7 separate regions of the Homo sapiens genome follow, and regions 1, 2, 3, 4, 6 and 7 are each linked to region 5. The links are contacts of gene promoters, found by promoter capture Hi-C in blood cells and fetal thymus (Javierre and others, 2016). All regions are on one chromosome and are shown on one strand. The core of a region is centred on a gene start or on the middle of the fragment in contact, and the rest is flanking DNA. Distances in the headings are between cores, read along the strand shown. Region 1 holds the start of STK26 (serine/threonine kinase 26). Region 2 holds the start of OCRL (OCRL inositol polyphosphate-5-phosphatase). Region 3 holds the start of SMARCA1 (SNF2 related chromatin remodeling ATPase 1). Region 4 has its middle 43 kb from the start of APLN. Region 5 holds the start of ENOX2 (ecto-NOX disulfide-thiol exchanger 2). Region 6 has its middle 54 kb from the start of OCRL. Region 7 holds the start of SASH3 (SAM and SH3 domain containing 3).

What was found. The method cuts DNA at HindIII sites, captures the fragments that hold promoters and counts their contacts. A CHiCAGO score of 5 or more calls a contact.
Region 1: a contact is called between the fragment with the promoter of STK26 here and the fragment with the promoter of ENOX2 in region 5, in 3 of 17 cell types (total CD8 T cells, naive CD8 T cells and non-activated CD4 T cells). The highest score is 10.4, in total CD8 T cells.
Region 2: a contact is called between the fragment with the promoter of OCRL here and the fragment with the promoter of ENOX2 in region 5, in 6 of 17 cell types (M0 macrophages, naive B cells, total B cells and 3 more). The highest score is 8.4, in M0 macrophages.
Region 3: a contact is called between the fragment with the promoter of SMARCA1 here and the fragment with the promoter of ENOX2 in region 5, in 4 of 17 cell types (non-activated CD4 T cells, fetal thymus, naive CD4 T cells and 1 more). The highest score is 8.0, in non-activated CD4 T cells.
Region 4: a contact is called between a fragment that was not itself captured here and the fragment with the promoter of ENOX2 in region 5, in 4 of 17 cell types (total CD8 T cells, activated CD4 T cells, naive CD8 T cells and 1 more). The highest score is 7.9, in total CD8 T cells.
Region 6: a contact is called between a fragment that was not itself captured here and the fragment with the promoter of ENOX2 in region 5, in 1 of 17 cell types (non-activated CD4 T cells). The highest score is 5.9, in non-activated CD4 T cells.
Region 7: a contact is called between the fragment with the promoter of SASH3 here and the fragment with the promoter of ENOX2 in region 5, in 8 of 17 cell types (total CD8 T cells, fetal thymus, monocytes and 5 more). The highest score is 12.6, in total CD8 T cells.

The regions. Positions count from the first base shown.
Region 1 is chrX:132,021,566-132,024,678 of GRCh38, forward strand. It overlaps STK26 (serine/threonine kinase 26), which reads left to right and starts at 1,737. Exons shown (of 12, transcript NM_016542.4): 1 at 1,737-1,842; 2 at 1,943-2,094. The coding sequence starts at 2,053. RefSeq lists enhancers at 1,285-1,831, 1,319-1,368, 1,819-1,978, 1,832-2,379, 2,349-2,418 and a silencer at 1,529-1,778. The HindIII fragment of the contact is 2,994 bases long and covers 1-2,772 here.
Region 2 is chrX:129,538,738-129,541,798 of GRCh38, forward strand. It overlaps OCRL (OCRL inositol polyphosphate-5-phosphatase), which reads left to right and starts at 1,522. Exons shown (of 24, transcript NM_000276.4): 1 at 1,522-1,741; 2 at 2,007-2,086. The coding sequence starts at 1,703. RefSeq lists an enhancer at 1,355-1,649 and silencers at 1,366-1,425, 1,536-1,735. The HindIII fragment of the contact is 8,325 bases long and covers 1-2,386 here.
Region 3 is chrX:129,521,929-129,525,076 of GRCh38, forward strand. SMARCA1 (SNF2 related chromatin remodeling ATPase 1) reads right to left here and starts at 1,562. Exons shown (of 25, transcript NM_001282874.2): 1 at 1,269-1,562. The coding sequence starts at 1,442. The HindIII fragment of the contact is 3,805 bases long and covers 463-3,148 here.
Region 4 is chrX:129,609,965-129,613,032 of GRCh38, forward strand. No RefSeq gene overlaps it. Among named protein-coding and RNA genes, the nearest start is that of APLN, 43 kb to the right of the region's middle. The HindIII fragment of the contact is 1,006 bases long and covers 1,267-2,272 here.
Region 5 is chrX:130,901,661-130,904,721 of GRCh38, forward strand. ENOX2 (ecto-NOX disulfide-thiol exchanger 2) reads right to left here and starts at 1,549. Exons shown (of 15, transcript NM_006375.4): 1 at 1,389-1,549; 2 at 24-71. RefSeq lists enhancers at 915-1,434, 1,295-1,564, 1,435-1,954, 1,575-1,764. The HindIII fragment of the contact is 1,854 bases long and covers 185-2,038 here.
Region 6 is chrX:129,592,916-129,595,855 of GRCh38, forward strand. No RefSeq gene overlaps it. Among named protein-coding and RNA genes, the nearest start is that of OCRL, 54 kb to the left of the region's middle. The HindIII fragment of the contact is 729 bases long and covers 1,027-1,755 here.
Region 7 is chrX:129,778,622-129,781,826 of GRCh38, forward strand. It overlaps SASH3 (SAM and SH3 domain containing 3), which reads left to right and starts at 1,328. Exons shown (of 8, transcript NM_018990.4): 1 at 1,328-1,533. The coding sequence starts at 1,477. LOC124905215 (a long non-coding RNA gene) reads right to left here. Exons shown (of 2, transcript XR_007068328.1): 2 at 1-1,658. RefSeq lists enhancers at 1,079-1,238, 1,489-1,568, 1,619-1,678, 2,946-3,125. The HindIII fragment of the contact is 655 bases long and covers 1,217-1,871 here.

The DNA.
Region 1 (3,113 bases), core at 487-2,986, 1.1 Mb after region 5:
ATGATGGAGCTTGATTCAGACCCTTGCGACTTAAAAGTGTGATCTAAACATCATCACCATGTGAGAGCTTGTTAGCATTGCAGAATCTTGGGCCCAGTCCAGACATGGGAGATAAAAATCTGCGCTTTTGAGGGAGCAAAAGAACCCTCGGATTTCTATGGACATTAAAAGTTTAGGTGGCACTGCAGGTTTCCGGTCAGGCTGGCAATGTTGTGAGCTGGGTTGGTGGGAAATCGAGACTAGATTGGAGCCTAACATTAGGTTAGAAATAGTGAAGGGCTGGACTTGGGGAACTAGGAGTAAGGAAAATGCAATTGTACCTTTTATCATCATTAAACACAAACAGAAACCATAGAGAAAGTAGTAAGTTTATCACCAGTCAGAGGGACCTGCGTCTGAATTCCCAGCTGTACCACTTCTTAATTGCGTGACATTTCGGTCAAATTATTTAACCTGGTTGAGCCTTTTTCTTCATCTGTAAAATGAGGGGAAATCAATAAGACTCCAGAAGGCCCTTGTACAGGTTCAGTAAGGTATTAATAACACATAGAAAGCACTTAGCAGTCCCTGGCACAATGAAAATAATATCCATTAATAATAACGATATTGATAAGAATTATATACTATTCTCTGAAAAAGATTTAAAAGGAAGAAGAGAAACTATCTTTTACCACTAGAGGCCCCCCACCGTGTGGTGCGTAGAGACCCATAACAAATTTCAAGGTAAGGAACTTCATCTTCATTTTAAACTGGCACTCGACTATTACTTTTTTAAAAAGTAATTAACCCCTTACGTGTTCCCAAAGGTGCCTTCATAATGAAATTCCTGTTACTATTATTACCAGTGTTACTGTCGCTACTGTTAGAGTACTCTCAAAAGAGCCTGTCTCCCTCTCCTGGAGTAGAACTTAAAATGGGGCGGAGGCAGGGAGTTACCAAAACCACTGCAGTGTATGCTGATTTCAATAACCTGTACTGCTAACGATCCAATCTCATTTCCCAAGCCTCTACTATCCTCATTAATTTTTCTGCCGATGTACCATCTGTTTTCCAATTTCCCTCTGCCTTACACGTGCAGAACTTGTGGTAGAGAGAAGCCCTAGTTTGGCCGTTCTGCAAGGGATAGCCCAGGAGGTAGGGGGAACCTTAAGTTGAAGTCACCTGAAGCATGTTTGGGGTCAGGGAACTCGGAAAGCAAGAGTGTGGCCACAGATCTGCCCAGAGGCGCGACCCCCAGCTGAGGAGACCAGATGGCGGGAAAAAGCGGGGGTCCACCGACTCCGCGGCTATCTGTAATCCTACCCTTGGCCAGGCCGGGGAGCCAAGAAAGACTTCCAACACTCCCCAAGTTTCAGCTCAAGTCGTCTCCGAGGCTGCGTGTGCCCCAGCCTCGCACGCCTCCCTGCAACGTGGCCGCATCTGGGGCGCCCTCATACCCTCAGGGTTTCCCAAACTCTTCCATTCTCTTCCCAGGCCCAGCCATGTCCCAGGTCTCCGGGTCCCCGGGTTCTCCTCTCCGCGTGCCGGGAGAGTCTCCAGCTTCTCAGACTCCAGCAACCCCAGCCAAACCTCTTCGCTGCCTGGAGCCTTGGCTCCCGCGACACCGCCCGGCTGCGGGGCGGGGGCAGGGCCAACGGCGGAACCGCCCCCAACCGCCTCCCAGGCCAGGCGAGCAGGCGGGTGGCTGGGGCGCCTCCACCTCCTCTTCCTAAAGCGGCGAGGCGCAGAGGAGCGGCATCACTCGAGCCCAGGTCCCAGCCACCACCACTCACAGCGCTCGGCGTTCAGGAAGAGGAGCAGCAGCGGAGGCGGCTGCTTCAGCGGCGGGCGGGCGCCAGAAAGGTAGACTGAGTCCCAGGGAGCTGCGCCGCTAACAGCCCACCTCCTAGCCCCGGGCTACGCGCCGCCAGCCCAGTAACCCCACTTTTGTGTGTCCTCCCAGGCCCCGATCGAAAAGCCTGGGAGGGCCGCCGAACTACCCCCGGAGGGAGGAGCCAGTCCGAACCCAAGGCGCCACCGCCGCAGAAGCGGAGCGAGGCAGCATTCGCCTCCATGGCCCACTCGCCGGTGGCTGTCCAAGTGCCTGGGATGCAGGTGAGGAAGCGCAGGCCGCCCCCGCCGCCCACGTGACTGCTTGGGAGCCCGGTGCGCCCTCGGTGCTGGGCACCGGCGACAAGGGACGGCCCCAGGGCTCCCCTGAGGGCAGGGCCGGTCACTATGGCCAGGTGACCTGGGAGTAGGGCTGGAGGTGTTTCCTGGTGTGTAGGCTAGGTAGTGCTCTTCGCTGGGAAGGCGAGGCGGGACTGGAGCGCGCAACTAGGTGGAGATTGAGGGCGGTTGGGGGTATAAAAATAGGCCAGAGCCACAGACACCTGCGCCTGCTGAGCTTGGCACGGTTGGGGATGGGGGGGCGGAACTTAACCTGGGAGAGATGGAAGTGCCTTGGAATTTGTGGGGTATAACGCGAGTAGTGAGTGCCCTACACCCCCCACCCCAAACACACACTCAAGTTGGGGCGGGGCAACACCAGGGGTGGCGGCGGCGGCGGCTTGAATTGGGCTCTTCCTGTGTGCGTAGGGCTAAGAGAGAGGTGACCTCTTTCTCCCTTTCGGTACTGCTGCTTAAGGGCAAAGTTGTAGCTTGCTCCCCGACCTAGCCCAGCCCATAGTGTGGCGTGAGAAATGCTGGTTCTGTTCAGAGTCACTGAGGTGATGACTTCTCAGCCCCCTCCGTGCCTTTCCCACAAGATGACTGTTACATGTGGTTAAAGGAAGCTTTTTGTCTTGGACAAGGGACTACTGCATGGGACCCAACTTGTTACTCGAAGTCTACCCAGCCCAACCCCCTCCCATTATATTTTCATTTTATTAAAGATAAGCTATGTCAGAAAACTTTTTATGCTGTTATGTTTTTAAATCGGTGCATTTTAGGCTATCTGCTAAGTGTTATCCAAATTTACTAACTTTTTAAAGCATTCATGTTCTATTTTTTTTTCCTTTGCTAGATGGCCTAAACAACCCATTTAGGGGCTAAAACCACTGAAGCCTCAGTCTTTCATGATCTAAAATGTGAAAACAAACTTTTTTGAAGTTCAAAAATAAAATGTTTATAGT
Region 2 (3,061 bases), core at 272-2,771, 1.4 Mb before region 5:
TTTGAGACAAGGTCTTGCTCTGTCACCCAGGCTGGAGTGCAGTGGCGCCATCACAGCTCACTGTAGATGTGACCTCGCTGGCTCAAGGGGATGCTCCCACCTCAGCCTCCTGAGTAGCTGGGACTGCAAGCACTTGCCACCACATCCAGCTAATTTTTATAGTTTTTGTAGAGACAGGGTTTTGCCACGTTTCCCAGGCTGGTCTTGAACTCCTGGGCTCAAGTGATCCTACCACCTCGGCCTCCCAAAGTGCTGGGATTACAGGCATGAGCCACTGTGCAGGCCAGTTTGTCTTTTAACTTGTTTATATTGTCTTAAAGTACATACATTTTGAAATTTCATGTAGCTAAATGTCTTATTCTCATTCCATATTCCAAGCTCATACTCAATTTTTTTTTCTGAAAGTTATAAAGTTTTGCTTTTCACATTTAGATCTTTAATCCACCTGGAACTGATTTTTCTTCCATGGTTTGAGGTAGGGGTCTAATTTTTATAATTTTCCATATGGATAAGCAGTAGTCCTAGTACCACTTAGTGGATAATCCATTCTTTCCCCACTGATTTGAAATGTCCCACACGCTGCATATCAACCTTCCGTATATGTGTGGTCTGTTTGAGGGGTTTATATTGTGTTTCATTGATTGTCTATCTCCACAGCATACTTTTAATTACTACAGATTTACAGTCACTCTTGATATCTAGTGTATTATAGATTCTGGAGCAAATGAATAACACGATCGAAAAATTACTTTGGGAAAAATATTTTTATGGCTGTCAACAGAGTAAACATGTCAAAGGAAAGAGTAAACCCAACAGGATTTATTTAAAGAAAAGTGCAATAACCCAGATAGGCTATCACAAGGGCTTACAATAAAGTTATGGCAGTGTGAATGGAGAGAAAATAAGGAATCTAAAAGTAATTCCACGTAAAATATTAACAGGGTGTGTTGACTGATTGGATATAGAGATGAGGAGGGGGAAGACGATATATGGCTTTCCAGTGAAATGATAATGAGTTAGTTTTGTGACGCAGTGATGTGTTAACAATGGACTCTATTAGGTAAGAGGTCTGGGCCAGGGATATATATTTGGACATTGTCTAGTTAGAGGTGAACTGGAGGGGACGCAGAGGAGGAGCAAAGGTCTGGGCTTTGGGGAATTCTCCGATTTAGGGCGTGGAAGAAAGAAGAGGAAAGGAAATGGTAGGATAACCAACACGGGACATTATAACCTTAAGAAATATATATATATATATATATGTATTTTTTTACTGAATGATGTGGGTCGTATTGACACAACAGGTTTGAGATCTCCCATAGGTATGACTGTGTTTTGTTTCTGTGGCCTTCAAAGTCCTCAGAACAATTTTGATGTCACAGGTGGCATTTAAAACCCATTCCTTGCTGGACCTGGTAGAGACGCCCCCAGTCCGTCAGGTCTCTCGCTGCAGTTCCGCAGTTTGACCGCAGGGGACGGAATCTGCGGCGGCCTGGAAAACTGGCGGGGGCGCGAGGCGCCGCTCTCTCTTGGGTCAGATTCTCAGCTCCCAGCTCCCCGCTCCCGGCTCCCGGCGCCCGGCGCCCGGCGCGGAGCTGTTCCTCAAACGACACGCAGCCGAGGTGGGTGGGTGTGGGGACGCGGGAGCCAGTGTCGTCGGATCGGCCCGCAGTCCGCTGTCCTGCTGAGCCCGGAGGCCGCCTGGATGGAGCCGCCGCTCCCGGTCGGAGCCCAGCCGCTTGCCGTATCCGCCGGAGAGAAGGGAGAGGGGAGGCCGCGCAGGGCCGGGGGTGGGGGTCGGGGGCCCTGCGGAACACGGTGGGGCGGGGCAACCGGGTGGCCCAGAGGCCGAGCAGAGAGGGGGAGGGGGCCGGCGCGGGAGACGAAGCAGGGCGGGGCGGGGCGGGGGAGGGCGGCGGTGGGGGGGGGGTGGAAGACCCCCTTCGCCCCGCAGTGCACCACTCCTCCCCACCGCGCTTCCGAAGGAGACCCTTGACTAGCGCCCGCATACTGTCGAGGGTATGGAGATGAAGGGTCCTCTCCGGGAGCCCTGCGCCCTGACCCTAGCCCAGAGGAACGGGCAATATGAGTAAGTAACCACCTGATTCCCACAGAGGAGGGGAGCCTGCCATTACCTCCCAACCCCAAACCGCGACGGGTCACCCACTGTCCTCCTACTGAAGCCACGCGGGCAACAGGTTCAGGTCCAGGTGTGAAGTGCCAGTGCTCTCTAACCTCGGGGCTTTGTCCCCAACTTCCAAGCCTCTGGATTGTGCTTGGCAGTGTGGCTCAGTGGAAGGACTGAATGGGCGGGGAAGCAGGAAGCCTGGGTTCTTAGTTCCTGCCCCTGCAACTGACATGTGTTGTGTAACGTTGGGCAAGTCAATAAAGCTTTCTGGGCCAAAGTTAACTCTTCAGTTTAATAAAACCATTAACTGCCTTACCTTACAGCCTTTGGAATTATAACTGGGGGAAAAATAAATGCGAGAGTGGCTTCCAAAAAGTAAAAGTGCTATGGAAATGCTTCATTGTTAACGTTACAGACTTGTCTTAACCCTATTCAGCTGGTTTCTCCAGTCTCCCCGTCCCCTTATCCCACTGGGTTGAAGGCATATTCATTAATTCAGTAATGGTTTAGTGTAGGCCAGAAACTGCCTCACTTACTGACTTTACTGTTAGAAAGAAAAGGTAATGAAATGTGTAGAGATAGAAATGACAGTATTTTATCAGTGTGTCACCTTCCTCTCTGCCATAGGAGCTCCGTAAATACTGTTGACTGATTGATCAAAAGATTATTTTGATAAGCTATCACCATAGCTGCTAACCTCACTCTATTGTCACTAATATCTTATCTCAAAAATATCCATGGTGACCATTACGTATCATAGGCCCCTATCCCTGTGTGCCCAAGACACCTCACTTGGATATTCATTGGCTTCTTGACATCATATTCCTTCCCAGTTTAAAAATTGTTCACTTAAATCTTGCCATCTCCCAACATTGGCTTCTGCCTAAAACCAATTTTCTCAGTCCCCACTTTTAGATCCTCTGTATCTATGCTGTC
Region 3 (3,148 bases), core at 312-2,811, 1.4 Mb before region 5:
AAGGCGAAAGGTGTTCATTTTCCTCAAAAGCTTTTCATTTGGTCGTATAGTATCATATAATGATTCAGACAAAGCCACTTGAGATCTCTAAAGCATAATTACCCACCTTTTTAAAATTGCGATATGACTACTCGTAAATAGGAAAAAATCCACACATAAACCATTAGTTATGCAATTTTATCATACATCAAAAATGCTTATGCCCCATCCTATTTTTATGTCAATTTTTCAACGTTTTATAGTTTTATTTGCATGTCTCGGGCCACACGAAATGTGCCTTATGGAGATAATACATATTTTCTGGATTGGCTTTAATATGTGTCAGAGCAGTTCCCTTACGTTAGAAGCAGCTCATCTTGGCGACGCTGAGTTTTTTAAAAATTAAAGGAGAAAAAAAAAAAAAACCTGTGTGTGTCCAGGAGCCAGCAGCGCCCACTAGGAGAGGGAGGCGGAAGCCTGGAAAGCTTGGGGCCGGATTGAGGGACCATTGGGGTGGCCCTGGAGTGAAACCCTATACCGTCGGGGGCGGGGCAGAAGAGGGTGAGGGTGCAGATGTTGGAAATTTTCCTAAGCCAGCGTCCACGGTTCCTCAGTTTGGGGGGGCGGGGGGGTACGACGCAGAGAGCTCCTTTCCTCGGGGTGACACCCCCACCTCGGCAGGCGGGGTTCAAACGAACAAGGGATGGTTTTTTTCCTGCCATCCAAAAGACCGACATTGCCAATGAAAGAAAGAAATGTCTTCCCTGTCACCCTCCACCCAGCAACCACCAGCACCTTGAAATTCAAATTACAAAAAAAGCCCCAGCAAAACCCCTTTAGCGCGAGTGTGGGATTGAAGGGCCCAGATTTCCCAGGCAGAGGCCGACGGGAAGGCGGGGGGAGAGGGAGCGAGCGAGAGGAGAGGGAGAGGCGGAGGCTTTTTCCTGCACAGCCCCATCCCCCACCCCGTTACCCGAGTTCCGGGAAGGTGGAGGGGGTCGGGGGCTGTCGAGGGGCTCCCGAGCCCCCAGGCCCCGGGAGAGCGGGCACCCCTCCACCCCGCGCCGCTCCCGCCCGCGCCCAGCCCCGCCCCCGTCCTCCAGGCGGCGAGAAGGAAAGGGGGAGGGGAGCGAACGCCAGGCGGTTCCGCCGCCGACCCCCGCACCCGCCGCCCCTAGCCCCGCAAAGCTCCGCGGGTACCTGTCGGCGCCGAAAGGTCAGGGTTTGGGCCCCTCAGAGGGGCCAGGCACAGGATTTGTCCACCACACACACACCCCCTTCCTATTTACCTCCTTCTTCTTCTCGCCCTTCTCCGTGGCCGCGGTGGCTTCGGTGGCCGCGGCGGCCGCTCCCTCCTCCTGAGAGGTGGACGGCCCGGGCTGCTCGTCCTCTATGACCACGATAGTGGCGGTCGCATCCGCGGCTGCCACGGTGGCTGCCACTGCGGCAGTGTCCTGCTCCATGCCGTGGGAGCGGGAACGAGTAGGGGGACAAGGCAGGGGACGAGGGCTCCTGGGCGGCGGCAGTGGCTGCACTGGAAAGAGCTAGATGGAGCAGGGGTGGGGAATCACTCCGCTTCCAACCCCTTCGCTCAGGCCCCCCCTTCTTTAAATAACCCTCAACCCTGCCCCACTTCCGTCCACCCACCCTACGTCATGGCCTCCCCCCGTCACTCTCCCCCCTTCCTCCACCCCCCCCCCCTCAACGATCGCGAGACTCCCCTTCCCCACCCAGAGCCCGGGCCGGCCCCGCACGACCAACTGTTGCCTGAGTGTGGGGCGCGGACAGGGGTGGAGGCGGGAACCCACAACTCGCGGCCCCCTGAAAATCTCCTTTCCCACACGCCCCCAACAGTGAGCCTGAGCTCCCCTCGCAGATGCGTGCAGAACGAATCCTCTTTCCCTTAAATCTGCTCTTTGTACCTCGGGGCGCTCTCCCCTTCTTGCACAAAGAACTTTTCCTCTGCTCCTAACTGTACTGTAGAAGGTCTTTTTCACCATTTGCAAAGCGCGGAACCCCTCTGGGACTGCCCTTTCCCGGATCCCTAAAGAGGTAGGATTAGCGGTGCTGTTTCCACCTTCCTAAATTCTGCACAAAGAGAAGCACTCCTTGAATCTCTTGATTGCAGCTGCAAACACATTCACTTACAAGGCAAAGTCTGACTCTCAAGTTTTACGTATATTTGCTCTATTTTCACCTCTGGTACCTCTCAGGTAGCCAATGTGCAGGAACACTTCTCTTACCTTCACCACTGCATTTTTAAATTCCTAGGGGACAAGGTTACCCACCGAACCTGGGGCAACATGTGGTAGGCACTCAATATTAGCAATTGAAATGAATTACTGTGATTTTTTGGCACAGGTTCTATTTGCACCTCCATTATTATTTGGTAATAATACAACACATAATATGAATGATCATGGATATAAAATCATTTCGTGATACAGAATCAATCAGTGTCCATCAGCAGGTGAATGGTTAAGGAAAATGTGGTCTGTATACACAATGGAATACTATGTAGCCATAAAAAAGAATGAAATGTCATTTGCAGCAACATAAATGAAACTGATGTTTATTATGTTGCACAAAATAAGCCAGGCACAGAAAGACAAATAACACATGTTCTCACTCATATGTGGGAGCTAAAAAGTTGATCTCATGGAGGTAGAGAGTAGAATGATAGGTACCAGAAGTCTGGGAAGGGTGTGTGGGGTTGAGGCGGATCAATGAAGAGAGGTCAGTTAATGAGTACAAATATACAGTTAGATGGAAGGAATAAGTTATAATGTTCAAAGTAGAGTAGGGTGACTCTACTGAACAAACAATGCAATGTATATTTCGAAATAGCTAGAAGAGAGGACATGAAATGTTCCCAACACATAGAAATGATAAATACTTGAGGCAATGGACACCCTAAATACCCTGTCTTGAGAAGGACCCTTAAGGACAGCAACAGTGGAGGATTTATTTTTCACCATGTTGCAGCTATTGAAAGATAGAATTCCTCTTTCCTTGCATGGGGCTGCAAAGGAGAAAAGCTCAAGAAATATTTGTTGTGTATTGGTGTGTCCCTGCTTTCAAGTCAGTTTTGTTCCACTGTATTTCTCATTGTCAGTGTACATTATTTCAGTTACATCGTGGGTTAAATGCACTTTTGTGAGGAAATCTG
Region 4 (3,068 bases), core at 520-3,019, 1.3 Mb before region 5:
AGTTTACTTCCATCCTCTCTCCTAGATGGTCTGAAAAGATGGTCATGCAGGTGGCCTGGCCCAAGAGGGGCATGCCAGTGAGAAGCCATAGGGAAACTGACATAGTGACATGGCCCTCCTACTCCTGCTGAAATTCAAACCTCTTCACAGGCAGTCGAGGGAGAACTCTGGGCCAAGCTGTGCGGTCTACCTCCTACTTTGTGACCCAGGGTGGCCCTGAGGCCCTGGGCCTGTCCCTCTAGCCCTCCCCTGATAAATCAGTCCCTAACATGTGCCTCTTGGTTGTCAGTGGATAAATGCATGACTCCTTCCAGGGAACTGGTGTGCATTTCAGTGGGGGCTTTCTAGAAACAATACCTTACCTCCCAGAGTTTCCCAAGAGCAGCTGGAGCTCTTGTTTTCTTACTTGAAACCTCAGTGGATTCCTCCAGCAGTTTAAATCTTCATCGTTTGCTGAATCCCAGGACCCAGGAAGCACAGTTTGCACCTGTCTTAATACCCAGGACTCACTGGGGCCACCTTCAGCCTTGGAGACAAGATGGGCCAGAGGGAGAACAGCTGGTGGCCCACATCTGCTTTTGCTTTTGTTTGGACAAAGATGATGTGCCATGTCCTTTTCTCTGTCACTGTGCATTGGTCAGAATATGTGGAGTTATGCTGCAATAACACAGAAACCCTGAAATCTCAGGGGTTTAACACAAGAAAGGCTTATTTCTGGTTCTCACAAAAGTCTAGTGCAGGTTGGATGACACGTAGTAAGGCCAACCTGAAACATGTGGCCTCCTAGAACTCCACAGCAGGGGGAAAGACAGATGGAGAAGTAAATAGTCTTAGTCAGCATGGGCTGTCATAACAAACTAGCATAGACTGGGTAGCTTAAAGAAGAGGAATTCATTTCTCACAGTTCCACAGCTGGAAAGCCCACAGTCAAGACACTGGCAGATTCAGTGTCAGGTAAGGGCACTCTTTCTGGCTTGCAGATGGCTGACTTCTCGCTGTGTCTTCCCATGGCTGAGAGAGAGCTAGCTCTCTGGTATCTCCTCTTACGAAGGCACTAATCCTATTGGATCAGGGCCCCATACTCATTTAACCTTAATTACTTCCTAACACCAAATACAGCCACACTGGCGGTCTAGTGTTTCAATATATGGATAAGGGGGACACAATTCAGCCCATAACAGCACACCAACTCTTAACTGTCTTGGCCCAGAAATGATGCACATTAAGTTCACTGACTCTCTTGGTCAGAATTAGTCACGTGGCCCAAGCTTAATTGCAAGAAAGGCTGAGAAATGTAGGGGAGCAAATATTTGCTGAGCGCAATCTGTGCCACACACTGTCTTCTAGGCTGAGCCTTGAGGAAGAAGGAAAGTCTCGAAAGTCAGAACAGTGGCTCGGATGTAAAGTGTAAGGAAACACACACCTGGGACTGTCTGCCAGGCAGGTTCAAGGAACCAAGACCAGGAACCTGGTTCTGAATAGAATTCTTGGGGGAAGAGGGGGGAGGAGGGAACTTGTCCCTGTGTTTGGTATATTTCGAGGTTTACTATGTCTTCTGCCCAGGATGTGAACACAAATCCTTCATCACAGATATATCAATAGACACTCAGGAAATTCAGATGAATTAGGCAGAGATCAGAGTTTTTATTCTGTTTTTAAAAATCAACATATTGAATGTTTCCCCCAAAACTACGTGTTTTATTTTATTTATTTATTTATTTTGAGACAGAGTCTCACTCTGTCACCCAGGCTGGAGCACAGTGGCGCAATCTCGGCTCACTGCAAGCTCCGCCTCCCGGGTTCACGCCATTCTCCTGCCTCAGCCTCTCAAGTAGCTGGGACTACAGGCGCCCGCCACCATGCCCTGCTAATTTTATGTATTTTTAGTAGAGACGGGGTTTCACCGTGTTAGCCAGGATGGTCTCAATCTCCTGACCTTGTGATCCGCCCGCCTCAGCATCCCAAAATGCTGGGATTACAGGCGTGAGCCACTGTGCCCGGCCAACGTGTTTTTTTTTTTTTTTAACAATCATTTTCCACTACATAGCAATAGGAAGAGGGTTAACACAATTATGTCAAATAGGAATCTTCAGGAGCGAGCTTTAGTGAATAGATAAGCCTGATATGCAAGCAGCACAGCCATGGTTGATTTCTAACTTGCTGGTGGGTCTGTTTTTTTAAACAGAAGATCCTGGGTTCCTTTGGTGGGTACTGGGAGGCAGTGTATCAAACCCACTGTCTCATAGCCCAACCGCTATATGAACTAGTTCAAAGCTTGAATTGGTGAAGTCCAAAAAAGAGAAGCTTTGCTTTTCCAACATGTTCAGAACTGTGATGGGAAAATGGTTGACTAAGTGCCACATCTTTCCTCTGCTCGAATAGAATGTAGATCATTGAGCCATGTGTAGTGACAAGGTGTTTTTGGGAAAGGTCTCAATGCTATGAATTGTTATTGTGCTCATGACCCTCCCTTAAGATGGCGTAAACGCCCTGGCATGATCAGCCCACACCTGCCTCTTTAACCTTATCTCTCTGCCTAATCCCATAGGGACACCAGCCTCCATTCTGGTCCAAGAGGCCCCAAGTCCTTTGCTGCCCTGGGGCTTTTGTGCTGGCTGTTCTCTCTGCCTGGAATGTTCTTCCTCCAGATTTTTGTGGGCTGCTTCCTTTTCATCTTTCAGGCTCAGCTCAAAAGCCACTAGCTCATAGAGGTCTGACAACCCATATAAAGTCAAAGTATCTCCCCTGGTACCCCAGAAACACATATACTGTTTGTCATCACCCAGTTTATTTCTTTGTTAATAAATATCACAGTCATCCCCTATCTTGTTCATCAATTACTTACTTCTGAATGTCTTCGGAGAAATTTCTTAGGGCTGAGCCTACTAGACTGTGAGTTTCCCAAGGGAAAATAGGGACTGAGGTCTCTATAGCCTTTGTCTCCTGCAAGGTAGGGAAGAGGCAGTGATGACTCATGTTTAAGAATACTTGAGTTCTGGCTGGGCATGGTGGCTCATGCCTGTAATCCCAGCACTTTGGGAGGCCGAGGCAGGTGGATTGCTTGAGGT
Region 5 (3,061 bases), core at 299-2,798:
TTAAACTCACACCTGGAACATACCATCACACTTCTTTGTGTTCTCCAAGAATTGATCTCAAATCAGGTTCCCTAGGATGAAAAGAAAAATCATCCAATCTTAATTTTTGCCTTCAATTTTATTTGATACAGAATAATATCCAAACTATGTGTATGTTTCAAAGTATCATGTTATTATGACCCCAAGCTTCTCCACCCTATTTATTTCCCAGTATATTTGTGCTGATATCTTTTATTCCAATCAGGCAAGCCCACCTGTCTCACAGTGCTCCCTCTTCTGTTTACCCTTCTCAAAGTCCAATCTCAGTAGCAGGAAGCATTTTCTCCCTCCTCTTTGACAACTTCAAATCCCCTGTACTCTGCTGGAGCCCAGATTAAAATTCACCTCCTTCACAAAGCCTGAAAGCCGGATGAGGGCTTCAGCACTTCCCGGGTTAGGCTTGAACTTCCATAGATGAACTCACCACCCCCATCAGTATGCTCTTCCACTGACCCCTCTTAGCGTTTTTTGCACACGTTTGTAATAATACAATGATTAATATGGTCTGTTTCACACGGTCTACTTTATTCTGTAGAATAAAGGTGTGCCCCCTAAATGTTTGTCAACATTAGTGCTATCAGTCTTTGCTGGAAACCCCTAAAGCGCTGGATTTTTATAACCAGTCTAACTTGCCTTTTACTCTCACCAGAACCCTGCACTGAACCTTAAACACACATTTCTCAAAAGCAAGATTCCTTCCCTCTTTTGCTTCCCATCCCTTCTAGAAATTGAGGGGAAACTCTCCCCACTTCAAAGACCTGGTGGGGGAAGTGGCAGGTGGCTGAGGGGCCAGTAAAGAGATGGCGATCAATTAAGGAGGCAAAAAGAGAAAGTTTGAAAAAAAAAAGTCACGCCCTGAGCGTGGCAAGGAATTCCCATGCCCCAAAGAAAATGGGGAGTGTAGCGCAGGGAGGGTTATGTGCCCAAACCTGAAATACAAATTGAGGGAAAAGAGGAAAGAGATCACCCAATTCCTGCGGTAAGAATTAGAGTCCAGTCACCGCCTAGGCAAAACCCTGGACGCAAACCCCAACTTCGGACCTCTGAGGAGGCACAGAGCCAGGGGGAGGGGGGCGGCGTCGTGGGAAAAAAAAAAAGGGGCGGGCGAGTTGGACCAAAAAAAAAAAAAAAAAAGAGCAAAGACAGCGCGCTCCCGGGCTCAAGAGAACTGGCGCCTAGAGCTCAAAAGCCCACCCCCGACTCCCAGTCCCGATACCCCCTCCCCTGCAGAGGTGGAGCTGGGTGGAGTTAGGCGCTGAGGACCGCGGCCCCGGAAGCACCCTCCTCCCTAGGCCCCCTCAGTCCCACAGTCCCCAGCCACGGCCACCGGGGCTTTCTGCCTCTCTGACCTCCAGCTCCCCGGCTACCGAAGCGCTAGTCCTTATACAGCCGCGGAAAATCGGGCCGGCGCGGCAGTTCCTGGGCTCGTAGTGCCCTCGCGGCGCCCCACGCCGCGCCACTCTCTTCCGAAATGCCCGCCTCGCGCTTCCAGGCCTAGACCCGGCACTCTGGCCCAAGGCTGGACTCTCACACACAGGGTGCCCACTGCGGCGTCTCCTATTGGCTACTGGTCACCGGGGAAGCCGGAGGCCCGAGCCCATGGCTTCATGGGAAATGTAGTTTGAGGTCGCTGGAGGCTGTTCTTCCTGGGGGTAACTCGTGTTGACATTGGCAGACAGACACAAGTGAGGACCGAGAATTATGGGAGATGGAGTTGCGGGACACTTATTTCTCTATACGCACAATTCTTCCCCTCCCCTTCCGATTGTCCCCAGCGTTCAGACGGGGAAGGGTATTCTGGGTATTGTAGTTTGGGTGCACTGTCTAGAGAATCTCTCTTGGGGTTATGGGTTTGTGCTTGTGGGGACAGACGAAGGCTCTAGATTTATTTTCATGTCGGTTAAGCTCTTAGCATTTTGCGGGAAGCACTTTCTATCGTGATTTGAAATTGTTATTGAGTTTTAAGTGTTTTTCAAAAGATGATGTTTATTCTTTGGTAAGCTTAGAATTTTAATTGAGAGTTATAGTCCTTTAAAATTGTTAAAGTGTGTTCCTTGTGAACCACCTGCATTAAAATCACTTGAAAGGTATGGAAGAATGTATATATTTTTTTCTAATTGGAAATTATAGTTCCCCCTGGAAACAGTGTCATAAATAGGCATAGAAATGTGATCTACACCAGCCCAGAAGAAGCCTATTTAATCCATAATGAAGCTATGTTGTTGCCATGAAAAACAGTGGCCACATAAACTGCTATAAATAACAATTTAGAACAGATAGACAATACAACTTAAGTACAAACGAGTAACTATATGTGTCTTTAAGAAACTTAACCTTTTGAGTAAAAATATGTTACAAGAGCTGGATAAAGACATAGGTGGGGAATGCCAAGCACTTCCAAGTGACTTAAAGGTTGAGGAAAATGGTTGTTTATTAGGGCTAATTTCACTCCCAACTTTTGACCTTTTTTTTTCTCTGTTAGAGATGAATCCTTGTAGCCTTGTTACAGTTGAATTACTACAACTTCTTGATGAGGACAACTTTTCGACTCACGAGTAAAATGAAGGGAAAGACAGGGGAATTGCATTTTGCTGAGGTAATTGCCCAATATTTTAAAAAGATAAGTGAAGGAGGAAGACGATTTAATAAATTCAACCATTTATTCAGCATAGTGCTTTGTGCAAAGCTCTGGGCTAGGCACTGTTGCCACAGAATTGGAAAAATAGTCCCTACCCTCAAGTAGCTCAAAATCCAGGTGAGGGGAGTTGTAGTAGAGGAGAATCTGGGGGGAGGAATAGATGAGTATACAATGTGCAAAATGCTGTAAAGAAGTCTACATAGGGTTCTATAGGAACATAGAGGAGGAAGAACTTGTTCTACTTCTGGAGAACTGGTTGAAGAACCAGTAAAATATTTGTCAGATTTGGGGCAGGGAGGTCAACCATATTCTATACAAAGCATATGCAAAGGCATAAAGGCATGAAAGAGTGCAGAGAACAATAGCAAAAGTTCCATATTGCAG
Region 6 (2,940 bases), core at 141-2,640, 1.3 Mb before region 5:
CTAAGATACACATCTGGGGAGAACCCAGCTACCCCTGCTCAGTAGTCTCAGTAGTTTAGACGCGCTTCCCCAAAGAGCTTGTTTTCACATAATCCTATTTTGCAGCTTTTGAAAACCAGTTTTGAACTTTTATGACTTCTTGGGGTGATCAAGTCCATAAATTTAGTACTTTTTTGTTGTTCTAATCTGAACTGCCTAACACGTTGGGAGGAAACCGCTGATTTGAGCATGGTGCCAATGCTTCCCTGCCAATCTCCATTATGAATTTGTGGATTCTGATTCCATTCCCTTTGAGACTGAAGAAGCCTCAGCTGGAGGTTTCTTCTCTACTAAGGCCCTCTTCCAATTCCCTCCAACTGTGAGCTTGACCCTGATGAATGTGCTGACTCAGTGTTGTCATAAACAACTTTCAAAGCCCCACCCAAAGCCTTGGCAGGAGAAGGTGTTTCTTTCTGAGAGTGATTTTCCCCCCAGCAGATGGAGACTGACACCAGAAGTTTTTACATAGTAGCAGGCAATGAGAATAGCAGGCAGGTGGTCAGTCTTTCCAGAGGTTAGAGAGGAAATGGCATCCCCAGCTGTGAGGCTTCTGTTATAGGAGACCCATTAGGACCTTTCTGATTGCAGGGCAAGTTGAAGAACTGGCTCTTGGTGTAGCCTCATAATGTAAAAGCCACACATTGCAACAGTGGCATCACTAAATGTTAGGGAGAGAACCTTAGTGGTGACCTAATCCAATCTCATTGTTTGGATAGGGAAAGTCTCAGAGGGGACAATGACTGACCTAAGGTTACTTAGGTTAGTGACACTGCATGGCATAGTGGCATTTGTTTTTTCAAGCAGTTCTACTCTGCTTGCCCATTAATTCCTTTGGTGGCATCTTATCAATTTCCGTGGCTGTAAATGTCTGTAATACCCCTGATTCCAAATGTTACGTCTCCACCTCATAGCTCTCTTCCGAGTTCCTGCCCAGTATATCCAATTAGTTAGCTGGCATCTCCCCTCAGATGTCTCACAGGCATGTCAAGCTTCACACGTCCAAAGTGGAATTCTTTTACTTCTGGTTCTTTTACTACCACCCAACCTAGATCCTCTACCTGTCTTCCCTCAGCTCAGAGAATGTCAACACCATCTGCCCAGTTGCTGGGGCTAAGCATCTAGGAGTTAGCCTTGATTTCTCTCTTTCCTACCGACCGACCACCTCAGCAACGTGCCCCACGCGTCTGCTTTTCATCACCCCCACTGCCAATTTTATTGGTCAAGGCCACCACCATCATCCCTTCTTAGGGTGTCGTCATGGCCTCCTGCCTAGTCTTCTTTCTCTCTCTCTCTCTTTTTTTTCTTTTTTGAGACAGGGTCTTACTCTGTTGCCTCAGCTGGAGTGCAGTGGCATGATCGGCTCACTGCTGCAGCCTGACTTCCCAGGTTCAAGCGATGCTCCCACCTCAGCCTCCGAGTAGCTGGGACTGTAGGCGCACATTACCAAGCCTGGCTAATTAAAAAAAAAATAATTGTAGAGGTAGGGTCCCCCTGTGTTGCCCAGGCTGGTCTCAAACTCCTGGGCTCAAGCAGTCCTCCCACCTTGGCTTCACAAAGTGCTGGGATTAGAGGCATGAGCCCACCATGCCCTGCCTGGTCTTTTTAACTTTGCTGCCCTCCAATCCATTTTCCACGCAGCAGGCAGCATGACTTAATTACATCAGTCTCATCCCTCCCCTGTTGATAACCCTTCAGCGACATTTACAATGAAACCTAAGCTTCGCCATGGCCCACCAGGCCCTGCATCAATGGGTCTCAAATCTTCATGTGCAGAAGAATCACCTGGATACATTGTTAAAAAGCAGATTCCTAGGCTCCAGAAATTCTGAGTCAGTTGGTCTGAGAGGAGGCACAGGAGTCTGCATTCTAAATCAGGACCCAAGAGCATTTTGATGCAGGACCACACTTTGAGAATACCACCCTAAAGGATCTGACCTCTGCCTACCATAACCCTTCCTCACCCCTGCCAATATACTCTGATACTGTCCTTTTACTCCTCCCAGTGAGCTGAACTCTTTCCAGCCTCAGGGCCTTTGCATGTGCTGTTTACCCAGAAAACTCCTTCCTCTCTCTTTCTTGCCTCAGTCCCCATCTTTGCTGTGCCTAACCCTAAGTCACCCGCCCTGTCCCATTGACTCTCTGCCCTCATTCCTGGGCTTCCTGGTATAGCATGCTGGCTGACTGCCCCTGGGCTTGCCATGTACTCTTCCACAATCTTCCTCTTCCTCTCTTGATGACCTCACGTACCTGCTCCACGGGGCCTGGGGAGGCAGGAAGCTATAGTGGTTCTTCACATAGGCTCTAATGACCAGACTGCCTGAGTTCAAATCCCAGCTCTGCCACTTCTAGATGTGTGACCCTGATCAAAAGTTAATTGACGTCTCTGTGCCTTGGTTTCCATGTCTTTTCTCTCCAGCTTTATTGGGTATAATTGAGAAGACAAATTGTACGTATTGAAGGTGTTTCCACATCTTAAAAGTAATGATAGCACCTTTCCTCATAGTATCATCATGAGGATGAGATCAGATACTACATTTCCAGGCCTTGGAACAGTGCCTGGTGCCTAAGTGCTAAATAAATGGCAGCTAGTGCAATTATTCCCAAGCCCTCCATGGGCCTCCAGGCCCAGAACCCGCTTCTGCTGCCCTTCAGCTCCCAGCAAGTGACTGTACCCTTTACTTTGTGAAAATGTCAAAACAGCCTTGCCCCCTGCACATCAAAATGTCTTCAGCTTAACCTCATCCCTCCCCCTTTCCATCTGTCTGAGAATAAGCGGTCCTCCTCGCCAAGACCAGCTCTTCCACCTGCACTTTTGAGCCCTTCTCCTCCACCCTCTCTGGACTTTTCCCCATCAACCATCACTCCTCCTCCTACATCTCAGTATGGGTTATTCACTTGACA
Region 7 (3,205 bases), core at 78-2,577, 1.1 Mb before region 5:
GAGGTATAATGGAGCTACAATAAACTGCACATATTTGAAGTATACAATTTGATACGTTTTGACATGTGTATTCCCCCATGAAATCATCACCACAGTCAAGATAGTGAACATATTCATCACTCCTAAAAGCTTCCTGTTACCCTGTGTGATGTCTCCCTTCCCTTCTCTCCCCTCCCCTTCTCCCCAAACCAATTATCTGTTTTCTGAGCAGTATGATTTTTGTAAAAAGAAAAAAAATGTTTATAGACAGAGAGTAGATAGATGCTTAAAACAGTGTAGAGGACAATGATGGGAAATTTTGAAATTTTTTTTGTTTATGTGTTTGTGAAATTGTATGACAAATACAAGTTGCTTTTGTAATACCAAGAAGTTATTAAAGTTATTAAAATCTGCCACAGACAACCCACAAATTGAATATACTGCATAGGTGTTTGATAAATGCCTGTTGGATACTTGCTAGAGGTGTGGAGTTGGCTGTAAGTGCTTTTCAGCTGTGGTGGTGATAAATATACTCATGATGGCTGAGGGGTACTGACTGGAGGGGTGACTGCTCTAGTGATGATGGCTTTAGGTGTACTGATGGCTGTAGGAGTGATGGCTGCAGGGCTGATGGCTGCACGGATGTGATGATGGTTGTAGGAGAGATGACTGTAGGGACGATGGTTATAGGGGTGAGAGGGTCATGAGTGCGGTTGGCTGTAATGTCCAGAAGGGTGACAGCTGTAAGGATGATGGCTGGAAGGGTGATAGCAGCAATGGTGATGACTGTAGAGGTGATGGCTGAAGGATGTCAACTGTAGAGGTGATTACCATAGTGACAATGGCTATAGGTGTGCTGATGGCAGCGGGGATGGCTGCAGGCCTGATGGCTGTAGGGGTGATGGCTGTATGGTGATGGCTATTGATAGGAGTGATGGTAGCAGTGGTGATGGTCACAGGGGTGATGGTAGTGGTAGTGATGGCAGTGACGACCTTGAAGACGTGAGTTGACCGGGAGCATTGATCCAACAGGCAGCCAGATGGTCCAACTTCTGGTTTCTGGATTCTGGTCAGTGAGATAAAGGGCTTGGGTACGCCATATAATGTCGAGCTGATTGTCCACCTCTAGGAAGATGGAGCAGAAGGACTGATGATGATCGACATGAGACAACAAGGTAGGGACTTTCTCTGACTGTTCAACCCAAGAGCCGTCTGCATCAGAATCTCTGGAGACTGAAGCTTGGACTTCCTTCCTCCCTAGGGGCCGGCAGGGGCTGCGATTGCTGTAAGAGTAGGTCACGTGGCAGGGCTTCCTGTATGCTGCTGCTGCCGGGTGTCCATGGCCCGCACCCCCAAGCTGCCACTGCAGCAGTCAGAGTGGCAGCTGAAGGCTCGGTTCATGCCGTGCCCCCGGGCAGTTCTGGTGAGGCTAAGCAAGAGGCCTCTGCATCTTGACACCTAGGAGAGCAGGGACGGAGTCTCCCAGGGTGGAGGACCATGCTGCGCCGCAAGCCCTCCAATGCCAGTGAGAAGGAGCCCACTCAGAAGAAAAAGGTGAGGAGCATTTTGGGAACTCACATCTTCCTTTCCTCTGCTTGCTCGACCCATCCCTTCCAAGACTCTTGGAAGTGGGAAGAGCCAAAGGCCATATGTTGAGTCTGTAGGTGAGGGCCACTCACCTAGAAGGCAACGGGACAGGGACCCAAAGGTTAACAGAAGTACAGAAGAGATGTTTAAAATTCTGGAGCAACAGAGTTACAGAATAGATCCTTAGAAATCTAGAGTCATGCAATTCAACCCTAGAAGAATGGGAAAAAAGATCTAAAATTAGGGGCCAGAATCTTAGACTAGAATTTGAGAATAACAAAATACAATGCTTAAGCTGAACCCTAAGCTTGTACTTAACTATCTCTCCTCTACGCTGGTCCTGCTGCCACTTCTGCCCCGGCCACGGCCTCTCAGGAGCCATCTCACTCAAAGGGCCCTGCTGGGCTGCCCAGCTTGGAGCCATGATGCTCACAGGACTGCCACCCCCTCCTCCACTTTGGCCATGGCCCAGACCCTGCCCACTTGGCTCAGCTCTGTGGTAGCTCCCAGGCCCTACCCGAGATGGAGCCAACCTGGAGATGGGGGCCTGAGGCCATTCCAGTCTTGGGGGAAAAGGCATCCGGAAGTGCAGTGGGATGCAGGGGGCATACAGGTTCTTCCTGGGTGGGGAATGAGAAATTAAGTTGAGGTGGTGAGTAGGAGTGAAGGCTGAGGAGGGAGGATTTTAAAGGCCAGGAGGAAAAACAGCTGTCATGGATGGCTGAGGTGTTCATCCCCCTGGGGCAGAGACCGGACTGGAAGAATCCTTGAAGGCTGTGCCAGATCTAGGATTTTGTGGTTGAATTTGAGGATTTCCAGATTTCTTTGGTTGGGTTTGAGGATTTCTAGACCTAATTCTTTAATTCAATTGAAGGATTCTCCCAGACAATCAGCAAGTATATCCTACACATCCAATGGGATGCTAGGACAGTCCCAAAGCAGGCCTGAACTAGGTCCAAGAGGCCCAGGCTATCCCCCGCCAATTTTCCCTGGAACTCAGCCCAGGTGCCCTATGGTGGATCCCCCTTGTCAGGGGAGTAGCTCAGAGATGGAGGCCAAGGCAGCTGAAAGACTGAGACTCGGGGCAGTGGGGTGTGCATCCTGCCCCAGCTCTCAGGTCCTGGGGTGGCTGCCACTTCCGGCTGTATTCTCCCCACCCCAGCTGCTTCTCTAAGGTTGCAGTGGTGGTGGGCGGGGGAGGGGGGAGGTTCATGAATCTTCACACGGGCTCTGTCATCCCCGTCCAAACCCTGCAGGGTGCTAGGCCCAGCAGGACTGCCATTGGCTGCCACTCCTAAGAGAGCAGGGCCACTTCCCCTTGCTCTCTGGCTGGTGGGGGTGGGAAACAGAGATTGCTCTATAGACACTGCTAGGCCTCAAACCACAGGGGCGCTGAGCTGGAGGAAAGTGTGAGAAAGAGCTGACACTTTGACACTGGGACCCTGTGCCACATCAGGAAGACGTACCTAGGGGCACACAGAAGCCAGAAGTCCCCTTTTTCTTTCCCAGCTTCAATTACCCAGATTCTGTGTTCGGCAGGCAAGTGGGCCCCTGGGATTTCCCCAGGTCTCTCCCAGGAGAAGGGGTCCTTTCGGGGAGAGTAGTCCAGGCAAACCCCACCCCAACCCCTGCCAGAGCC